2 separate regions of the Homo sapiens genome follow, and region 1 is linked to region 2. Evidence: promoter capture Hi-C in 16 types of primary human blood cells and fetal thymus (Javierre and others, 2016). All regions are on one chromosome and are shown on one strand. The core of a region is centred on a gene start or on the middle of the fragment in contact, and the rest is flanking DNA. Distances in the headings are between cores, read along the strand shown. Region 1 overlaps MEIG1 (meiosis/spermiogenesis associated 1). Region 2 holds the start of FAM171A1 (family with sequence similarity 171 member A1).

The links. Contacts are between HindIII fragments. The CHiCAGO score rates a contact against its expected background, and 5 or more counts as called.
Region 1: a fragment that was not itself captured here is called in contact with the fragment with the promoter of FAM171A1 in region 2 in 1 of 17 cell types (naive CD4 T cells); the score reaches 5.4 in naive CD4 T cells.

What each region holds. Positions count from the first base shown.
Region 1 is chr10:14,965,889-14,969,246 of GRCh38, forward strand. MEIG1 (meiosis/spermiogenesis associated 1) reads left to right here. Exons shown (of 3, transcript NM_001080836.3): 2 at 552-718. The coding sequence starts at 581. Among named protein-coding and RNA genes, the nearest start is that of MEIG1, 8.2 kb to the left of the region's middle. The HindIII fragment of the contact is 1,596 bases long and covers 1,306-2,901 here.
Region 2 is chr10:15,369,834-15,373,122 of GRCh38, forward strand. FAM171A1 (family with sequence similarity 171 member A1) reads right to left here and starts at 1,456. Exons shown (of 8, transcript NM_001010924.2): 1 at 1,123-1,456. The coding sequence starts at 1,219. RefSeq lists silencers at 1,213-1,442, 1,453-1,502. The HindIII fragment of the contact is 10,313 bases long and covers 1-3,289 here.

The DNA of each region.
Region 1 (3,358 bases), core at 854-3,353, 400 kb before region 2:
CAGTTTTGTATGTATCTTTCAGGGACTTGGGGTTTTTTTTGTTTGTTTCTTACAGTTTTATCCCCACAAAATAGAGCATGAATCCTTCTCAATCTTGGAATTGTATGTTTAAAAACTACTATATTTAATGGGATTCTCAACTCTAAGTATAATTTTTAAGTGTTAGTTTTATTTATTCTTTTTTTTTTTTTTTGAGATGGAGTCTTGCTCTGTCACCCAGCTTGGAGTGCGGTGGCACAATCTCAGCTCACTGCAACCTCCACCTCCTGGGTTCAAGCCATTCTCCTGGCTCAGCTGCCCCAGTAGCTGGGATGACAGGCGTGCACCACCATGCCTAGCTAATTTTTGTATTTTTAGCAGAGACGGTGTTTCACCATGTTGGCCAGGCTGGTCTCAAACTCCTGACCTCATGATCCACCTGCCTCAGCCTCCCAAAGTGCTGGGATTACAGGTGTGAGCCACCGCACCCGGCCAGTTTTGTTTATTCTTAAAGGGAATTTCAAAATTGTCACTATTACATTATCCATTAATGTTGTTTTAACATCTTTCAGATATTATTGATAATAAGGCCTCTGTAACCATGGCTAGTTCTGACGTAAAACCAAAATCAGTAAGTCATGCCAAAAAATGGTCAGAAGAGATAGAAAATCTGTACAGATTTCAACAAGCAGGATATCGGGATGAAACCGAATATAGACAAGTGAAACAAGTTTCTATGGTAAGATTTCTGTCTCTACAAACCTCAACTCGAAATGTATTTCTCAGATGCTGAAAAGTATTTTATAAACAACCAGAGAATAACTGAAGGAAATTCGACTCCAACTCTCTCATTTTATTTGTTTTCTTTTATTTACTTTTATTTTATTTTTTGAGACAGAGTCTCATTCTGTCACCCAGGCTGGAGTGCAGTGACGCAATCTCGGCACACTCCACCTCCCGGATTCAAGGGATTCTCTTGCCTCAGCCTCGTGAGTAGCTGGGATCACAGGCGTGCACCACCACGCCTGGCTAATTTTTGTATTTTTGTAGAGACGGGATTTTGCCGTGTTTGGCCAGGCTGGTCTTGAACTCCTGACCTCAAGTGATCCACGCGCCTAAGCCTTCCAGAGTGCTAGGATTACAGGCAATAGCCAGGACGCCCAGCCAGACTCTCTCATCTTATTAACGGGGAGAGGCCCAGAAGAATGATTTGCAGGCAGAGTGGGAGAAGAGGTGGTCGTTTAGCTGGGCACATTCAGAATTTTCTCTTTTATTGAGCAACTGTGCTCTGCTAAATGAATCTTTTGCGGTAGACCACAAAAAAAAAGCTTTTTTCCTCACTCAGGTGATTTCATTATCAGATAATCAGTATGTTGGGTAACTATTATTTCCCTCCTGTTACTTTTTATTTTAACCATGAATTAGAAAGAGGTTAAAATCCTGTGGTTTTTGGGGCAATTATACCTTACAAACAAAAGTGTTAGAACAACTCGTGACTTTGATAGTATATCCCAGGCTTTCCTGAGAGGGTAGAGACCTAGCTTTGCTTTATGAAGGCTAGACCAAAGTCTAGATTTGGCTCCCGTTTATACAGTGTGGTTCTTCTTAACTTATTTATTCTCTTGGCTACTAAGATATTTTTTTTTTTTTTTTTTGAGACAGAGTCTCACTCTGTCACCCAGGCTGGAGTGCACTGGCGCAATCTCGGCTCAGTGCAACCTCCACCTCCCGGGTTCAAGTGATTCTTAAGAGACGTGTTTTTACAAATTCAGTTCACCCCTGAACAACACAGGGACTAGGGGCTTCAATGCTTCATGCCGTCAAAAATTTGTGTATAACTTTTGACTCCCCAAAACAACTACTAGTAACCTAGTGTTAACAGAAACTCTTGCCCATAAGGTGAATAATTGATCAACCCAGGAATACACTAATATCTTGATATATTTTATGCATTCATGACAAACCTTTTCTTAATTATTTTTGATATTTATAGTCTGTGTGGTTTGCAACTTTTTTCAAATCGTTGCAAATCTCAAAAAAAATTTCAACAAATTTTTTGAAAACAATCCATGTATATATGGACTCCCCAAGTTCAAACTTGCATTGGTCAAGGGTCAACTGTATTGTAAAATATGACATAGTATTCATAAATATATTTTAATTTTTAGATTTGGGATTATAACAGTGTTTATTAACTCAGTTGTTTATTTTTATTTTTTACTAACTCATCATTTTTCAGATTCTAATGTGTAGATTTTGCAGATCACTATAAGCTCTTCTTTTTCTTTTATTCTATTCTTTGACCTCTACTTAAAAATTCCTTTAAAAGTACATAGGAGGCTGGGAGTGGTGGCTCACGCCTGCAATCCCAGCCCTTTGGGAGGCCGAGGTAGGCAGATCACTTGAGGTAATGAGTTTGAGACCAGCCTAGCCAACATGGTGAAACCCTGTCTCTACTAAAAATACAAAAATTAGCCGGGCATGGTGGCATGCACCTGTAGTCCCAACTACTTGGGAGGCTGAGGCAGGAGAATCACTTGAGCCCAGGAGGCAGAGGTTGCAGTTAGCTGAGATCACACCATTACACTACAGCCTGGGCAACAAAGCGAAACCCCATCTCAAATAAATAAATTAATTAATTAAATTAAAATTTTAAAAGTACATAGGAAAAATAATGGAGGCAATACGGAACTATCATGTTATTACCTCTTTAATAGACATTAATTTAATGACATTATTGTGGTTAACAATAGAATTTAAAATACTGATCAAGTGAAGATTGATTACTGTGACTTCCATGTATCTGTCTTCTCAACCATTATACTCTATCCCCATTGCCAAGGATAATTTTCATTACTATATCATCTATGGCTTTTAAACAGAAAAAACAGAAGCATTATCATTTTTATGCTGTTTAAAATAAGCTTTGGGCTGGGCGTGTTGGCTCACACCTGTAATCCCAGCAGTTTGGGAGGCCGAGGCAGGTGGATCATCTGAGGTTGGGAGTTTGAGACCAGCCTGACCAATATGGAGAAACCCTATCTCTGCTAAAAATACAAAACTTGCCAGGCATGGTGGCACATGCCTGTAATCCTAGCTATTCGGGAGGCCGAGGCAGGAGAATCACTTGAAACCAGGAGGTGGAGGTTGTAGTGAGCCGAGATCACGCCATTGCACTCCAGCCTGGGCAACAAGAGTGAAACTCCATCTCAAATAAATAAATAAATAAAATAAGTTTCATACCCTGCCTTAAGATTGGGATGCCCCTAAAGATACACAAGCCTCAGACTCATAGGCGGCCAGCTGTGGTGGCTTACGCCTCTAAGCCCAGTGCTTTGGGAGGCTGAGGGTGAAGGATTGCTTGAGGCCAGGATTTTGA
Region 2 (3,289 bases), core at 206-2,705:
TTGCAGGACACACACCCTTCTGAGGGGACAGGCCTCGGGCTCGGAATCCCGGGGTTCTGCAGGGCTGCAGGGAGCTCCCTCGCAGAGACCTGAGCCCCCGGCAAGAGTCCAGGCAGCGGTGCCCTGGGTGAATGCAGAGGCTCATCTGCGGGCCTCAGTGGCCCTTTTGAAAACGCCAGCAACAGAGGAGTCCTCGACGCTGTCCCCACAAAAATGTGCCAAGCAAGCCTCAGGGTGGGTGTGGGGGACTCCCCTCAAAAAACGCTGATTTTAAAAACAAAAGACAGGCTCGTGGCCATTCTCAGAGGCGACCACGTTACTCCCAGGGCTGGAAAGCAGATTTGTGGAGGCCAAAGACGAGACAAAAGGCACGAGCTGGCGACAAACTGATCTGGAAAGGATTTTTCTTTTTTTTTTTTTTTTTTTTGGTGAGCGATGAGGGCCTCCCAGTTCAATTCTTTCTTCCCTTACAGAGAAGACTCATGGGCCGCTGAGCAAATCCCTTATGGTCTGGAAGAGACGTCAGATAGGCAGGGGGAGAGAACCCCCCAAACTTTCCCAAACTGCGGCAGGCTAGTGGCTAGTGGCGGCAGCGGACCTCGGGGCCCCGGGACACAGGGGGCACCCCGGGGCGTCAGCCACCCCCTCCCGCCACAACAAAAGGCCCCAGCGCAGCCCAGGAGCTGGGACTTCCCAGACCCGAGCCCGGCGTGGGGAGCCGGGAGCGCGATCGGGCGGCGCGCCCTGGGCGGCCCCTCTGTCCGCGGCGACATGGGAGACAGAGCCGCGTGTCCGAGGCGCGGCATAAAGGGGACCCCCGGGCGCATCCAGACGAGCCCCCGCCGCAGCGGCGACAGCAGCTGGAGCTGCCCGCGCCCCCGCCCGACCCAGCCCCCGATCCCCGGCCCCCGAAGCCTCCGCCCGGGTCACCCCGCGTCGCCGGCCCGCGCCGCCCCCTCGGGAGCGCGTTGCGGGTGCTGCAGGCCCGGAGGCTCCCGATGCGGCTCGGGCTGCGTCGCCACCACGCGGCCCGGGACCCTCCCGCCGCCGCCGCCGCCGCCGCCGCCTCCGCGCCAGGCCCGGCGCGACACAAAGCCCCCGGCCCCGCCGCCGCCCACTGACCTTGGGCTCCGGCGCCGGGCTCCCGCAGCGTCTTGGTCACCGCCTTCCAGACGTGGCAGCCCAGCAGGCACAGCAGCAGCGTCGCGGACCTGCTCATCTCCGCCGCGGGGCCGGCGGCGGCTCGGGCTCGCCGAGAGCGGGCCGGGCGGCGGCGCGTCACGGGCGGCCGGGCGCCGCGCCCCCCTCCATGTCGCTGGCTCCGCGCGCCGGGCCCGCCGCCCGATTGGCCCGGCCCCGCCGCCCCGGCCGCTCCCTCCCGCGCCCCGCGCCGGGTTTCCCCGAAGAGCCGCGGCGGCGGCGGCGGCGGCGGCTGCTGCTGCTCCGCCAGCTCCTTAACCCCTTCCTGCCTCGCCCGCCGCCGCCGCCGCTGCCCGCGCCCAGGCCCCGGGCCCGTGGTGCCACCTGGCGGCTGCGGCGCCGAGGGCGCCCCCGCCCGGCGCCGCTGCGTCGCGCCCCCAGCCCGACCCCCGGCGACACTGCCCCGGCGCGCCCCATCCCCGCAGCCCCGCAGAAGAGCCAGACCTGCCTTTCAGGGCGGAGCCCTTTTCATCACACCAGGTCACCCAAGGGGCCGCAGGAGACATTGTATCTGGGTGTGACCCCCCCACCAGGTGCCATCCTAATGTAGTTGTGTCCCCCAACGTAGATTTCACACCCAGTGTTAAAGATCCGCAAAAACACTCCCCAAGCCAGTATAGACTGCAGTAGGCCTGCAGTACCTACGTGTTGGCGGGTGGACAGCTTCAGGAGGAATGGTACTTGGATGGTTCTAGGGGTTAGGGTGGGGAGGAAATCCACATCTTTTGAGGCCCTAGGTGCTTTAAAACTTTCTGTCCTATTAAAGAAAAAAGACTATTCCATGACACGTGTGAAAGCACAGCAAAGAAGACCCTCTTTGGAACCATCGCAATAGGTATAAGCCCTACCATGGGATTCTGCAGTCGGGGAGAAAGGTTGGGTTCAACTCTGAATACAGCAGGAACAAGTGGGGATTTATAACCGAGGACCAGGGTGGGATGCAGGGAATGAAAAATTATAAGAGGAAACATCAGGGGGAAGGGGGATTCTTGAAAGTCAGACATCCCCTGGCAGGGCTGGGCAGGACAGGGCGGATGGGGAAGCTGATCAGATATCCAGGGTGGAGGGTTCTTGGTAAACTGACTTAGCAGGGTTCTTCCTGAAAGCAGATTTTACAAGGAAGGGCACAACTGAGCCTAGAAGAAGGTTCCGGAGCCTGACTGTAGTTCGGTCAAGCAGAGACTCTTTGTCCATCTTCACAATACATGATCTAAGAGGTAGTTAGCATTATCCCCCCCATTCACAGATGAGAAAAGAGGCTAAAGAGGGTTAAGGAATTTGTCCAAAAGTGCATACCTGGTCAGTGGCAGAGCCAAAATTCTAATAAAACAGTCAGTCTGACCCCAAAATTGAAACTCTTCACAAAAACCTCCAGACTTGGCTGGGTGTGATGGTTCATGCCTATAATCCCAACACTTTGGGAGGCTGAGGTAGGTGGATGGCCTGAGTTCAGGAGTTAAGAGACCAGCTGGGCCAACATGGTGAAACCCTGTCTCTACCAAAAATACAAAAAAATTAACCAGGCATAGTGGCCCATGCCTGTGGTCCCAACTACTCAGGAGGCTGAGGTGGGAGGATCGCTTGAACCTGGGAGTGGGGAGGTTGCAGTGAGCCAAGATCGTGCCACTGCACTCCAGCCTGGATGACAGACTGAGACCCCGTCTCAAAAAAAAAAAAAAAAAAAAATCAAAAAATAAAACCACCAAAAAAACCACACACAAAACAAAACCAAACCTCTAGACTTTCCTTGAGCCTAGGGACCCCCTCCATTCCAACCTCAACTTTTCTTTCTCTCAACCCACTCCTGTCGGTATGCCTTCCACACAACCTTCACCTCCACTTGTCCCTCTCCACCTTCTCTTCCAACTAGCACTGCGGTGACCTTCCGACTTCCACTGGGGACCTAGGAAAATCCACTCCAGACCCATCATCCACCCCACACTGCTTCCAGAACACCAGGCCAGAAGGAGGGTTATTACTGTAATTTCATTAATTGAGCATTTAGACATGGCAGGCACCGTACCAAAAAAAGAATGAAGGATGGCACTTGCCCAGTTGGCTTATAAAAGACAAATGACTGTGAGACATG